4 separate regions of the Homo sapiens genome follow, and regions 1, 2 and 4 are each linked to region 3. The links are contacts of gene promoters, found by promoter capture Hi-C in human tissues and cell types (Jung and others, 2019). All regions are on one chromosome and are shown on one strand. Each heading gives the region's core, a stretch centred on a gene start or on the middle of the fragment in contact. The rest is flanking DNA. Distances are from core to core; before and after follow the strand shown. Region 1 overlaps TBC1D10B (TBC1 domain family member 10B). Region 2 overlaps FBRS (fibrosin). Region 3 holds the start of ZNF768 (zinc finger protein 768). Region 4 has its middle 5.0 kb from the start of ZNF48.

The links. Contacts are between HindIII fragments. The study calls those that stand out against the background at their distance.
Region 1: a contact is called between a fragment that was not itself captured here and the fragment with the promoter of ZNF768 in region 3, in 2 of the 25 tissues and cell types used here (bladder and mesenchymal stem cells).
Region 2: a contact is called between a fragment that was not itself captured here and the fragment with the promoter of ZNF768 in region 3, in 2 of the 25 tissues and cell types used here (adrenal gland and mesenchymal stem cells).
Region 4: a contact is called between a fragment that was not itself captured here and the fragment with the promoter of ZNF768 in region 3, in 1 of the 25 tissues and cell types used here (dorsolateral prefrontal cortex).

What each region holds. Positions count from the first base shown.
Region 1 is chr16:30,362,845-30,366,000 of GRCh38, reverse strand. It overlaps TBC1D10B (TBC1 domain family member 10B), which reads left to right. Exons shown (of 9, transcript NM_015527.4): 2 at 407-506; 3 at 789-896; 4 at 995-1,101. Among named protein-coding and RNA genes, the nearest start is that of TBC1D10B, 6.1 kb to the left of the region's middle. The HindIII fragment of the contact is 4,833 bases long and covers 1-3,156 here.
Region 2 is chr16:30,668,350-30,671,932 of GRCh38, reverse strand. It overlaps FBRS (fibrosin), which reads right to left. Exons shown (of 18, transcript NM_001105079.3): 16 at 3,290-3,373; 17 at 2,954-3,161; 18 at 1,123-2,864. The coding sequence ends at 2,288. Among named protein-coding and RNA genes, the nearest start is that of FBRS, 12 kb to the right of the region's middle. RefSeq lists a silencer at 1,504-1,697. The HindIII fragment of the contact is 4,874 bases long and covers 1-3,583 here.
Region 3 is chr16:30,525,186-30,528,321 of GRCh38, reverse strand. It overlaps ZNF768 (zinc finger protein 768), which reads left to right and starts at 1,756. Exons shown (of 2, transcript NM_024671.4): 1 at 1,756-1,996; 2 at 2,271-3,136. The coding sequence starts at 1,909. RefSeq lists enhancers at 371-670, 2,251-2,310 and silencers at 741-1,570, 1,661-1,980, 2,001-2,050. The HindIII fragment of the contact is 23,531 bases long and covers 1-3,136 here.
Region 4 is chr16:30,388,692-30,392,164 of GRCh38, reverse strand. It overlaps a transcript of ZNF48 not described here. Among named protein-coding and RNA genes, the nearest start is that of ZNF48, 5.0 kb to the left of the region's middle. The HindIII fragment of the contact is 2,143 bases long and covers 244-2,386 here.

The DNA.
Region 1 (3,156 bases), core at 2-2,501, 160 kb after region 3:
CCTTCGGGTAGATATTGTTACTTTCTCCACCTTACAGATGAGGAAATTGGGCTTAGCAAAATTAAGTGATTTGCCCAAGGTCACACAATGAATAAATGGTAAAGCTAGGACGTGGATCCAGATCTAATGCAAAATGTGGCTTTAAAATACTCCATACTCTCTCCCCAGATTTGGATGTGTCAGAAGTGAGATTTAAATATGACCTCTGAATAGAGATCCATCAGGGAAGGAAGCCCTTTCAGTGTGCCTTGGGATGCCCAAGTGGCCAGACATCCTGATGTTTGGCAGCTCACAGACTATCCAGTTTCTCGTTTGAGCTTGGGGAGGTGGCTTGCCTCAGTTCCCCCTGCAATGCAGGTTTTACACTATTGCTACTGACCCCTTCCGTGCTCCCCCGACCCTGCAGAGAGAGCTCCATTCCCGTGGACGTGGCTCGGCAGCGGGAGCTCAAATGGCTGGACATGTTCAGTAACTGGGATAAGTGGCTGTCACGGCGATTCCAGAAGGTTTGAGGGCTGAATGGTGGGCAGGGCAATGCACAAGTTGGGAGGGGTAGCATGTGCTCCAGGGAAGCCCAGGAAGCCGATAATATCTGCCCTCTGGACCACACTGGGGATAGATGGGCCCTGGCGGGGGAATGGCTTTAAAAATAGAAGTCCAGGCCAGGTCCAGTGGAATCAAGCCTATGGGATGTCGGAGGAGTATCCAGGGAGTTTGTGGACTGCTGGGGAAAGGTTGGAGGCTGTGCCAGCCCTTGAAGCTGTCCCCCTCCTGCCACTTTGCCTTAGGTGAAGCTGCGCTGCCGGAAGGGGATCCCCTCCTCTCTCAGAGCCAAAGCCTGGCAGTACCTGTCTAATAGCAAGGAACTTCTGGAGCAGAACCCAGGAAAGTTTGAGGTGCGTGCAGCTCCAAGGTGTGGGGACATGTGGCCCTGTCTGTGCAAGGGGTATCAGTTCCCCCAGATGCTGAGGTAATCCCCACTGTCCCACTGCAGGAGCTGGAACGGGCTCCTGGGGACCCCAAGTGGCTGGATGTGATTGAGAAGGACCTGCACCGCCAGTTCCCTTTCCACGAGATGTTTGCTGCTCGAGGGGGGCATGGGTAAGGTGGCCGGACCATGGGGGTCAGTCAGCAAACATTGGCTGGAGGATCCACCTTTTAGCTAGGTGGATACAAGACTGAGTCGAAAGTGGTTTTTGCCCTTCAGGACTTGTAGAAGAGCTATCTGTAATGGACTAAGTGTCAAGCCATGTCAAAGGAACTGTCCTGGGAAGGAGACTTGACTCAGGTTGTGTGTGGGGGCACGTCATGGGCTCCTTGAAGAGCTTGCATTTGGGCTGGGTTTTGGAGGGGTGGGAGCTACAGCAGTGGGGCAGGGTTTTCCTGCCTGGGGGTTATGGAAAAGATCACCAGGGACCCTTAAATGCTATGCCAAAGCATTTGGAATTTTGTTCTATAGACCAAGCTTCCTCCAGATGTCAGTATATACTCTTCTCTAGTAGTATGCAAGATGATCATCTTAGGGAGTTCTCTGATGGACTTTTTTTTGTTTTGTTTTTTGAGATGGAGTCTCCCTTTGTTGCCCAGGCTGGAGTGCAGTGGTGTGATCTCAGCCCACTGCAACCTCTGCCTCCCAGGTACAAGCAATTCTCATGCCTCAGCCTCCTGAGTAGCTGGGATTATAGGTGCACACCATCGTGCCCAGCTCATTTTTGTGTTTTTAGCAGAGACGGGGTTTCACTGTGTTGGCCAGACTGGTCTTGAACTCCCAACCTCAAGTGATCTGCCCGCCTTGACCTCCCAAAATGCTGGGATTACAGGTGTGAGCCACTGCGCCTGGCCAGATGGACTTTTTGTTCTTTCTTTTCTTTTTTTTTTTTTTTGAGATGGAGTTTTGCTCTTGTTGCCGAGGCAGGAGTACAGTGGCACGATCTTGGCTCACTGCAACCTCTGCCTCCTGGATTCAGGTGATTCTCCTGCCTCAGTCTCCCAAGTAGCTGGCATTACAGGTGCGCGCCACCACACCCGGCTAATTTTTGTATTTTTAGTAGAGACGGGGGTTTCACCATGTTAGCCAGGCTGGTCTCGAACTCCTGACCTTAGGTGATTCACCTGCCTTGGCCTCCCAAAGTGCTAGCGTTATAGGCGTGAGCCAACACGGTCAGCCGGACAATTTTTTAAATCAATAATTCATCCTTTAGCAAATATTTATTGAGCATCTGCTATCTACCAGGCACTGTCTAGTCACAAATGATTGCAGTGAACAAAAAACCAAAAACTCCTCTCATGGTGTTTATATTTTAGTGGGGACAAACAATAAATCAGGGAAAGGAAAGTATATTGTATGTGAAATGATGGTAAGCATTAAGGAGGAGGTTATTTTTATTTTTACTTTTATTTGTTTTTTGATAGAGATGGGTTTTCATCATGTTGCCCCGGCTGGTCTTGAACTCCTGGGCTCAAGCGATCCGCCTGCCTTAGCCTCCTTAAGTGCTGGGATTACAGGCGTGAGCCACTGTGCCTGGGCCTAAAGAGGAGTTTAAAGCAAGAGGGAAATAGAGAATGTGAGTGGGGATGGGGTTACAAATGACTTGATCCTGCTTATGTTTTAAAAGGGTCATTCTGGCTACCATGCTGAGAACAGACTATAGGGAGACAAGGACAGAAACGGACCAGTTAGGAGACTTCCTGTAATCCAGGAGAGGGTGAGAGCTAGACCAGCATGGTAGCAGCGGGAGTATGGGGAGAAGTGGTTGGATTCTGGATATATTTTGAAGGTCGAGTCAAAGGGATTTGCCAATGGATTAGACATGCAGTGTGAGAGGAGAGAGGGGAGTAGGGTTTTTGGCCTGAGAAATGAGAAGAATGGAGTTGCTGTTTACTAATACAGATGGGGTAAAGGTAGCTGTGGGGGGCATATCAGGAGCTCAGTTTTGGAACGTTTATTTTTTATTTTTGTTTTTTGAGACGGAGTCTCGCTCTGTCGCCCAGGCTGGAATGCAGTGGCGCCACCTCGGGTCACTGCAACCTCCACCTCCCAGGTTCAAGCAATTCTCCTGCCTCAGCCTCCTGAGTAGCTGGAATTACAGGCACCCGCCACCATGCCTAGCTAAGTTTTGTATTTTTATTAGAGACGGGGTTTTGCCATGTTGGCCA
Region 2 (3,583 bases), core at 289-2,788, 140 kb before region 3:
GGCTAATTTTTGTATTTTTAGTGGAGACAGGGTTTCACCATGTTGGCCAGGATGGTCTACAATCTCCTGACCTCGTGATCCATCTGCCTCAACCTCCCAAAGTGCTGGGATTACAGGCGTGAGCCACCATGCCCAGCCAGAACCATAACATTTATATGCACCAGGAAATGAAAAAATTCATGTGCCTCGCTTTGTTGCAGTGACCTGTAGTAGCTAGAAAAATAACTGGAGGAATTTCCCCGAAAATTAACAGTGGTTGCCAGGTGCGGTGGCTCACGCCTGTAATCCCAGCACTTTGTGAGGCCAAGGCAGGCAGATCACCTGAGGTTGGGAGTTAGAGACCAGCCCGACCAACATAGAGAAACCCCATCTCTATTAAAAAAAAAAAAAAAAAAAAAAACAAAATTAGCCAGGCGTGGTGGCGCATGCCTGTAATCCCAGCTACTCGGGAGGCTGAGGCAGGAGAATCGCTTGAACCCGGGAGACAGAGGTTGCGGTGAGCCGAGATCGTGCCATTGCACTCCAGCTTGGGCAACAAGAGCGAAACTCCGTCTCAAAAAAACAAAACAAAACAAAACAAAGCAAAAAACTGGTTATCCTCAAGAGGTGGGATGATGGAGCACTTTCCCTCCGTGTTCTGTATTTGTGTGTTTGAATGGTTTTATAATGACTATGTATTACTCCACAAAAACCAGAAAAATTTTAAATTACAGATCTTTTTAAACATACTCTGCCTGTGCAGACATGTGCGAGAACACATAGAAAGGACCTGAAGAATATACACCTAATGATTTACAGCGGTTACCTGGGGGAAGGGGATGGGGCTTGGGAAGGTTGGCAGGTGAAGGAGAAATTTAATGTTTTGCTCAGTGTCTTACTGGGTTGCTTGAATCCTACATACTATGTATTCCTGGATTATAGAAAAACAGTGTGAAAAACTTCAGTGCCCAACCCTCGAACCCATCCCTCCAGAAATGGCAGACCAACTTGCCCAGTGGATGGCAGGGAGGAAAACCTTGGCGGGATACGGACAGTACTGTCCTCATCCCTCCCTTACCCCAGGACCCACACACCCCACCCTGGTCCAACCCACCCCACACACACTCAAAGAGGAGCCGGGGGTCTCATTGTAACACTCGTTTTTATATAAATATTCGCAAGTCATGTTACAGAAGAAGCCCCACCAGGGAAAAAAGTCAACGTTAGGGTTTTGTTAGATTGACCCCTGCCTTCTAGGTTGGGCCCCAGCCTGGAGGCGCCTGCTGCTTTGGGAAGGCTGGGGTTGCTGCCGTGAGGCTGCCGAAGAAGCTGCCTGTGTCGCCCACCCCTGGGCCGACCCCCTTCTTTGGTGTGTGGTACATGGTGACCTTCTCTGGCCACCCTTAGCCTGGGGCAGGGTTTTGGAGAACAGGGTTCAGGGAAGCAGGGCCCAGGAGTCCTGGGGGCACTTGGAAATGGGGTGAAGGGGACTGAGCCATTAAGAGGTGGTGGAGTCTGAGATTTAGAGGCTGAGCCTTTGGGGGTGGGGGCAGAGTGAACGGGAACATGTTGGGGGAACCGGGGCTGTCAGCCAAGTAGGAAGCTTCTGCCCTTCCCTCCAGCCCAGGTCCCCAGGTCCTGCCCCCTGTTGGTCATCTCCTGCTGGCCCCACCTTCCCAGGGAGAAGCCTGACTGTCCCTTCCCGGCTCTTCCCCCTGCAGTCCCCTTTCCCCACAGAGAGGCCAGAGGCTAGGAACACAGCACCAGTCTGAGGGTTTAATTAACCAGGAAGGGAACTGTTGGGAGGGGCACCCCTGTAAAAATGTACAAAAGGTCTTGGGGCTATGTGAAAGGGGTGATAAATATGTACATGGAACCCCCCTTCCTTGAGCCCCTCCTCCCCCAGCCCTCGGAGGGCATGAGGACTTGGGTGGTAGGTGAACGGGAGGGGGCACTTTGGCCTCTGGCTTAGTGAGCCCTTGGGGAGGCAGGCCCAGGGCCTAGAGGCCCTTACAGGGGCAAAGGTGTACCTCAGGAGGCCCCATGGCCCCCGAGATGAGCCACACTCCCATGCACACGCCCCTCTCCCTTCTCTAGAGGCTGTGACCTCTGCTCTCCCAGTGACCCTACACTCCATGTGATGCTTGGTCTTGTGGGGGTTGAGGCTTCTGTTCCCAGGTTCCATGACCTCAGAGGTGGCTGGTGAGGTTATGACCTTTGCCCTCCAGCCCTGGCTTAAAACCTCAGCCCTAGGACCTGGTTAAAGGAAGGGGAGATGGAGCTTTGCCCCGACCCCCCCCCGTTCCCCTCACCTGTCAGCCCGAGCTGGGCCAGGGCCCCTAGGTGGGGAACTGGGCCGGGGGGCGGGCACAAGCGGAGGTGGTGCCCCCAAAAGGGCTCCCGGTGGGGTCTTGCTGAGAAGGTGAGGGGTTCCCGGGGCCGCAGCAGGTGGTGGTGGAGGAGCCAAGCGGCTGTAGAGCAAGGGGTGAGCAGGTTCCAGACCGTAGAGGCGGGCAGCGGCCACGGCCCCGGGTCCAGTTAGCTCCTCACCCGCCTCATAGAAGCGGGGTGGCCTTGCCAGGCGTGGGGGTGCTGCCAACCAGGTTGGCTCCAGGAAGCCAGCACAGCGATCTGGTGGGCTAGGGCCCAGAAACGGGGGCGGCCGGGGCCTCTCAAACAGCAGGTGAAGGCCCTGGGGCCCAGTGGCTGCTGCGGCGGCGGCAGCGGCGGCGGCAGCAGCAGCGGCAGCGGCGGCGGCAGCCTCCTCCTTCCGCTCTTCCTTTACCCGCACAGATTCCTTGGTTGGCCGAGGCCCCTCCTCACCAGCCCGGGCCTTGGGAGTAGCAGGAGAAACTCGGAGCTGGGGCCGTGAGAAGGGGAGGTCCCTGGAGGGCAGGCGTGGGGAGAGAATGAAGTTCTCCAGGGGCAGCAGGGGCTGAGGGTGGGGCAGGGGCAGGGTGGGTGGGAGGCACACCTGTCCTTCTCCTCCTTGGTGATGGAGGGCTCCCTCCGCTCCACAGGCCGCTCCTTGTCTGAGCCTGGAGTCCGGGCGGCCTCAGGGGGCCGGACCCAGGCAGGAAAGGTCAGAGGACTGCGGTGCAGGCGGCCCCATGGGTCCGGTGGGGAGGCGAAGGCTGGTGGGGCCCCTGGGCTTTCTTTCTGGGCAAAGACGGCGCCGGAGTCTGGGCAGAGGGTGAAGCAGAGAGTGACAGGGGCCAGAAGTGGGAGGCCCTGTTCAGGCCTCCTCCCAGACCGTCTGAGCTCTCACCCTGTGGCCGCAGCCCCCCCACCCCACCGCACCCGCACTCACTGAATGTGGGGCTGCCCAGGCCTCCAAAGGCCCCGTTGGAGAGGGCAGCCAAAGAGGCGAAGCTTGTGGGACGCCCAAAGGGATCTGTGGGAGGAAAGGGGGGTGGTCAGAGCACTGGGCAGCCGGTGCTGAGCAGGCACCAGGCCTGGCTGGGCAGAGGCAGGACCGGTGCCTGGAGTCCTCAGCTGCCTGCTTTCAGCAGCCATGTGCTGAGCACTTCCTTGGGCCAGGAAGGTGTTGAGCTTTGACAAGCACCCTGTCGGTTAACCTCACAAAAAGCCCAAGAGGTGGTTA
Region 3 (3,136 bases), core at 507-3,006:
TTGGCCTCCCAAAAGTGCTGGGATTACAGACATGAGCCAGTGCGCCCCACCTGTAAGCCTTTATTTAGATAGTTTCTCTCCACTTTTTACCACTTGGCATTCTTCAAGTTCTTGTTCTCACCTCTTTTCAGGAAGGAGAGGCCATCCTTCCTCCCAAACATTCTCTTCCCTTCATTTGTCTGGGTAGGCGACAAGAAAACACGATCCATGGCTCCTGCTCACACAGGGGCATCGGGCTCGTTAACTGTCAAGAACGCTGCCAAACTTGTTTCAGCACGAAGCGTAGAAAAAAAAGACAAGAACTGGATGATATTAAGTTGTCTGTCCAGGCTCACTTCCTCAATTCAAAGCTGCGCCCGAGGCAGTGTTTCTCAGGTTCCCTTCCTCTGCAAGACTCCATTCGAGTCAGACAAGACTGGAGAGTTGTTAGATGCCTCGAAGGCCAGATGGTTCTCTCAGTCCAATTCTCCTTTGTATCACCCTCACCTGGAAGGAATCCTGCCTCCCTGTGAGGAAATCTAACAACAGGGACTAAGGCTGCCAGGGATTGAGTTAAACTCAGGCGCTGGGGAAGGTGGAGGGGAGAGGCAAGGGGTGTGAGGCTGACGAGGAGGAAGGGTGTCTGTCCTCAGATCTTCTGGCTTTCATAAAACATAATGGAGGCTAAGTGGGGGCGGGAAAAGTTTTGATGGCACAGGCCGGGCTGGAGGGGAGATGCCTGGCACCTCCCTCCCACTACCTCCTGAAGGCGCTTCTGGCCGACAGGGGAGGCGGACCCGACCACAGCACTCCCGGCCAATCAGGAAGGCGCCTGGCGTTCCCTGGCGACCATTAACGCCCAGCCGTCCGCGGGGTTGGAGGAGGCGGGGCGGCTAGAGCACGAGCCCCATCGGCCAACCGCCGGGCTTCCTGGGGCGGAGAAGCTGTGCCTCTGGGAGCCGGGGCGGGGCTGTCTCCTTGGCAACTATCCTAGCCCTCGAGGAGGGAGGAGGGAGGAGGAGGATCAGGGGAGCCGAGCTGGGTGGGGGCCGGAGGAACGGGAGCGGGCGCGCGCAGGTGCCGGGGAGCGGAGTTCCTGGAGGGGGTCCCAGGCTCAAGGACCTCGGCGAGGCCAAGGGGAGTCCGTCCCGGTTCCCGAGGCGCTGCCGGAGCTGACCCGGAGGCCCGGGAGGGGAGGGAGCGAGACACCGCCCCCGCTGGCGCCGGGAAGCGTCGCTCCTTCTCGCTGACCTTGGTCTCGCTTGTCGCCTCGCCCTTGGCCACACGCACCGACGACGCGGGGCCCGGGAGATGGACAGACGGGCCTCTGGAGGGACGGAGACCTAGAACATAGGCACACACACTGCCCCGGTAGCCCCGCGGGCTCCGGGGCGTCCGGTCCTCACCCACCCCGTGGCCGGGCCCCTCCAGCCCAGGGTTAATGCCAACGAGTTTCCACCTCCAGCGGCTCCTAGAGAGGCCGCGGCGCGAGCCGGCGGGGGGACCTGGCCGCGGACGGACACTTCCTGTGCGGGGGAGGGTGGGGGGGTGCTGGGCGGCCGTTGGACAGTGCAGCCCAGCCCGGGGCCGGGGTCCAGAAGGTGGGGGCTCGGGCGGGAGCGGGGGCCGGGGGCCGCCGGGGTAGTCGCGAAGCCCCTCATCCCCGAGGCCGCGACGCGCGGGGGCCAGTGAGGGCCACGGGGAGGCCGAGACCTTGGGAGGGGGCGGGGCCGCGGGCAGGGGAGGGGCCCGGCGCGCTGGAGAGGCGCGGGGTCAAGACGTCCGGCCTCGGGGGCCCGGGCTGGGCCGCCGAGTCCCCTGGGCGGCGCTGAGCGGGCGGGAGGCGGGGGCCCGCGGCTCGGGGCAACCGAGGCCGGGTCGCGGGATCGGCCGCCATCGCCGCCGCCGCTGCACTGGGAGCCCGCGGGGATGGAGCGGGAGGCGTTGCCGTGGGGCCTCGAGCCCCAGGATGTGCAGAGTTCTGACGAAATGAGGAGCCCCGAAGGGTACCTCAGAGGTGAGGAGGGAGCGCCCGTCCGAGGAGTGGACTTGCGCGCAGGAGAAGGGGCTGTGGCTCCAGGGAGGGAGCGAGGGCCCGGGGCTGGGACACCTGGGACTCGAAGGAGGGGCCGGCGGGGACTGGGGTGTCTTGGGTCAGCTGAGGGGGGCGTGGGAATTTCAGCACTTGTCTAGGGGCCAGCGACCCTGCATGTGAGGTGGGAGGTGTGTGGTTGCTAATGGACCAAATGACCTTCCAGGTCTCACACGATCTGGATTCTCTCATCCTGCAGGCAACATGAGTGAGAATGAGGAAGAGGAAATTTCTCAGCAAGAAGGCAGTGGGGACTATGAAGTCGAAGAGATACCATTTGGGCTTGAACCCCAGAGCCCTGGGTTTGAGCCACAAAGCCCAGAGTTTGAACCCCAAAGCCCCAGATTTGAGCCTGAAAGCCCGGGGTTTGAGTCCCGAAGCCCTGGGCTTGTGCCCCCAAGCCCTGAGTTTGCACCCAGAAGCCCTGAATCAGATTCTCAGAGCCCTGAGTTTGAATCCCAGAGCCCTAGGTATGAACCCCAAAGCCCTGGCTATGAACCTCGGAGCCCCGGGTATGAACCCCGGAGCCCTGGCTATGAATCTGAGAGCTCTAGATATGAATCCCAGAACACTGAGCTCAAAACCCAAAGCCCAGAATTTGAAGCTCAAAGTTCCAAATTCCAGGAAGGTGCGGAGATGCTTCTGAACCCCGAGGAAAAGAGTCCTTTGAATATCTCCGTAGGAGTTCACCCCCTGGACTCCTTCACTCAGGGGTTTGGGGAGCAGCCCACAGGGGACCTGCCCATAGGGCCACCTTTTGAGATGCCCACAGGGGCCCTGCTGTCTACACCGCAGTTTGAGATGCTTCAGAATCCCCTGGGTCTCACAGGAGCCCTTCGAGGTCCAGGTCGGCGGGGTGGCCGGGCCAGGGGTGGGCAGGGCCCTCGGCCTAACATCTGTGGCATCTGCGGGAAGAGCTTCGGGCGGGGCTCCACCCTGATCCAGCACCAGCGCATCCACACCGGTGAGAAGCCCTACAAATGTGAGGTCTGCAGCAAGGCCTTCTCCCAGAGCTCTGACCTCATCAAACACCAGCGCACCCACACTGGCGAGCGGCCCTACAAA
Region 4 (3,473 bases), core at 66-2,565, 140 kb after region 3:
TGTAGTCCCAGATACTCAGGAGGCTGAAGCAGGAGAATGGCGTGAACCTGGGAGGCGGAGCTTCCAGTTAGCCGAGATCGCGCCACTGCGCTCCAGCCTGGGCGACAGAGCGATACGCCGCCTCAGGAAAAAATAAAATAAATAAAAAGATACAAAAAAGTTAGCTGGGAGTGGTGGTGCACACCTGTAGTCCCAGCTACTTGGGAGGCTGAGGTGAGAGGATCTCTTGGGCGCGGGAGGTGAAAGTTGCAGGGAGCTGAGATCATGCCACTGCACTCCAGCCTGGGTGACAGAGCAAGACCCTATCCCACCCCCACCCCCCCGCCAAAAAAAAAGGAGAAAGAAAAGGAAAGAGAAAGAAAACCTTAGGCTGGAATCAGTGGCTCACGCCTATAATCCCCACACTTTGGGAGGCTGAGGCAGGTGAATCACCTGAGGTCAGGAGTTCGAGACCAGTTTGGCCAACATGGTGAAACCCCATCTCTACTAAAAAATACAAAAATTAGCCAGATGTGGTGGTACGCGCCTGTAATCCCAGCTACTCGGGAGGCGGAGGCAGGAGAATCGCTTGAACTCGCGAGCCGGAGGTTGCAGTGAGCTGAGATCACACCACTGCATTCCGTTCTGGGCAACAGAACAAAACTCTGTTTAAAAAAAAAAAAAGAAAAGAAAAAGACTGCCAGGAGCAGTGGCTCACGCCTGTAATCCCAGCACTTTGGTAGGCTGAGGCGGGCGGATCATGAGGTCAGGGGTTGGAGACCAGCCTGACCAACATGGTGAAAACCTGTCTCTACTAAAAATAAAAAAATTAGCTGGAGGTGGTGGTGCTCACCTGTAATCCCAGCTACTCAGGAGGCTGAGGCAGGAGAATCATTTGAACCCGGGAGGCAGAGGTTTCAGTGAGCAGAGATCACTGCACTCCAGCCTGGGCGACAGAGTGAGACTCCGTCTCAAAAAATAAAAATAAAAGAAAACCTAATGTGTGCTAGAAGCTTGAGATCCAAAGATGACTATGGATTACGACCTATCTTCAGAGAGGAAAATAGAGAATAGTTCCGTTTTAATGTGCCGTGAGTTTACATATTAGGAAAGCAGTGAAAGATGAAGATAGAATGTAAGTTTATTCGGCCGGGCGCAGTGGCTCACGCCTCTAATCCCAGCACTTTGGGAGGTCAAGGTGGGCAGATCACGAGGTCAGGAGATCGAGACCATCCTGGCTAACACATTGAAACCCTGTCTCTGGCCAGGCGCGGTGGCTCACGCCTGTAATCCCAGCACTTTGGGAGGCTGAGGTGGGCAGATCACGAGGTCAGGAGATCGAGAGCATCCTGGCTAACACGGTGAAACCCCGTCTCTACTAAAAATATAAAAAAAAAATTAGCCAGGCGTGATGGCGGGCGCCTGTAGTCCCAGCTACTCAGGAGGCTGAGGCAGGATAATGGCATGAACCCAGGAGGCGGAGCTTGCAGTGAGCCGAGATCACACCACTGCACTCCAGCCTGGGCGACAGAGAAAACTCCATCTCAAAAAAAAAAAAAAAAAAAAAAAAAAAAAAAAAAAAAACCCGTCTCTACTAAAAATACAAAAAATTAGCTGGGCGTGGTGGCAGGTGCCTGTAGCCCCAGCTACTCGGGAGGCTGAGGCAGGAGAATCACGTGAACCCGGGAGGGGATGTTGCAGTGAGCCCAGATCGCACCACTGCACTCCATCCTGGGCGACAGAGCGAGACTCCGACTCAAAAAAAATAAATAAATAAAAATAAAAAAGAATGTAAGTTTATTCATTTGTTCCACAAACATTTCCTGGGTATCCATCAGGTACTGGGCATTTGTGCTGGGAAATAGAAGAGGGTATAAATGGTCAGCATGCCTGCCATATTCATTTGCAGAGCTGCCTAACTCTGACTTTGAGAGGACAAATCCTATAGTTATTAGATCTGAACTTGAATTAATGTCTAAAGATATAGAAGTCCCTCAAGGGATGCAAGGGGTGGGGAAGAGGTAACTGTGAAGACATGATGGCAAGATGAAGAAGAACTAATACGGGCTGGGCATAGTGGCTTACACCTGGAATCCTAGTGCTTTGGGAGGCCAAGGCAGGAGAATCATTTGAGGTCAGGAGTTTGGGACCAGCCTGGCCAACATAGTGACCCCATCTCTAAAAAGAAAAAAGAATTAGCCAGGGATGGTGTTGCAAAGCTATAGTCCCAGCTACTTGGGAGGCAGAAGTGAGCCCAGGTGTTCAAGACTGCAATAACCTATGATCGCACTACTACATTCCAGCCTGGGCAACAGAACAAGACCCTGTTTCTAAAAAAAAAAAAAAAAAAAAAAAAAAAAAAAAAAAAACTAATCCAAATGACTAAATAATTACTAAATGGGAAGAGAGCTGTCCACCACACACTGCCCTATATGAAACTCAAGGTACTGCCTTCCTTTGTCAAAGCAAACAAGCCCCAAATATCATATGAATGATTCGCCATAATTAGTTGGAATTAATAAGCATGGAAATGGACTATGGTGTCACTGTTAATTCATATAAACTCTACATTTAACACAATGACCAAGCAAGAGCCTTTTTTTTTTTTTTTTTGAGACAGAGTCTCACTCTGTTGCCCAGGCTGGAGTGCAGTGGCACGATCTCGGCTCACCACAACCTCTGCCTCCCAGGTTCAAGCAATTCTTCTGCCTCAGCCTCCCAAGTAGCTGGGATTACAGGCGCGCACCACCATGCCCAGCTAATTTTTGTATTATTATTATTTTTTTTTTTTTTTTGAGATGGAGTCTCGCTCTGTTGCCTAGGCTGGAGTGCAGTAGCACAATCTCGGCTCACTGCAAGCTACACCTCCCGGGTTCACGCCATTCTCCTGCCTCAGCCTCCCGAGTAGCTGGGACTACAGGGCCCACTACCACGCCCAGCTAATTTTTTGTATTCTTAGTAGAGAGGGGTTTCACCGTGTCAGCCAGGATGATCTCGATCTCCTGACCTCGTGATCCGCCCGCCTCAGCCTCCCAAAGTGCTGGAATTACAGGCATGAGCCACTGTGCCCAGCCAATTTTTGTATTTTTAGTAGAGACAGAGTTTCACTTTGTTGGCCAGGCTAGTCTCGAACTCCTGATCTCATGATCCGCCTGCCTCAGCTTCCCAAAGTGCTGGGATTACAGGCGTGAGCCACCACACCCGGCCACAAGAGCCTTTTTTGCAGGGTTGTTTTCTTTTTGTTGTTGTTTTTGTTTTTATTTTTATTTATTTTTATTTTTAATTTTCTTTTGAGATAGAGTCTTACTCCGTCGCCCAGGCTGGAGTGCAGTGGCGCAGTCTCGGCTCACTGCAACCTCTGCATCCTGAGTTCAAGCAATTCTCCTGCCTCAGCCTCCTGAGTAGCTGAGATTACTGGTGTGCGGCACCACGCCCGGCTAATTTTTGTATTTTTTTTTTAGTAGAGATGGGGTGTCGCCATGTTGGCCAGGCTG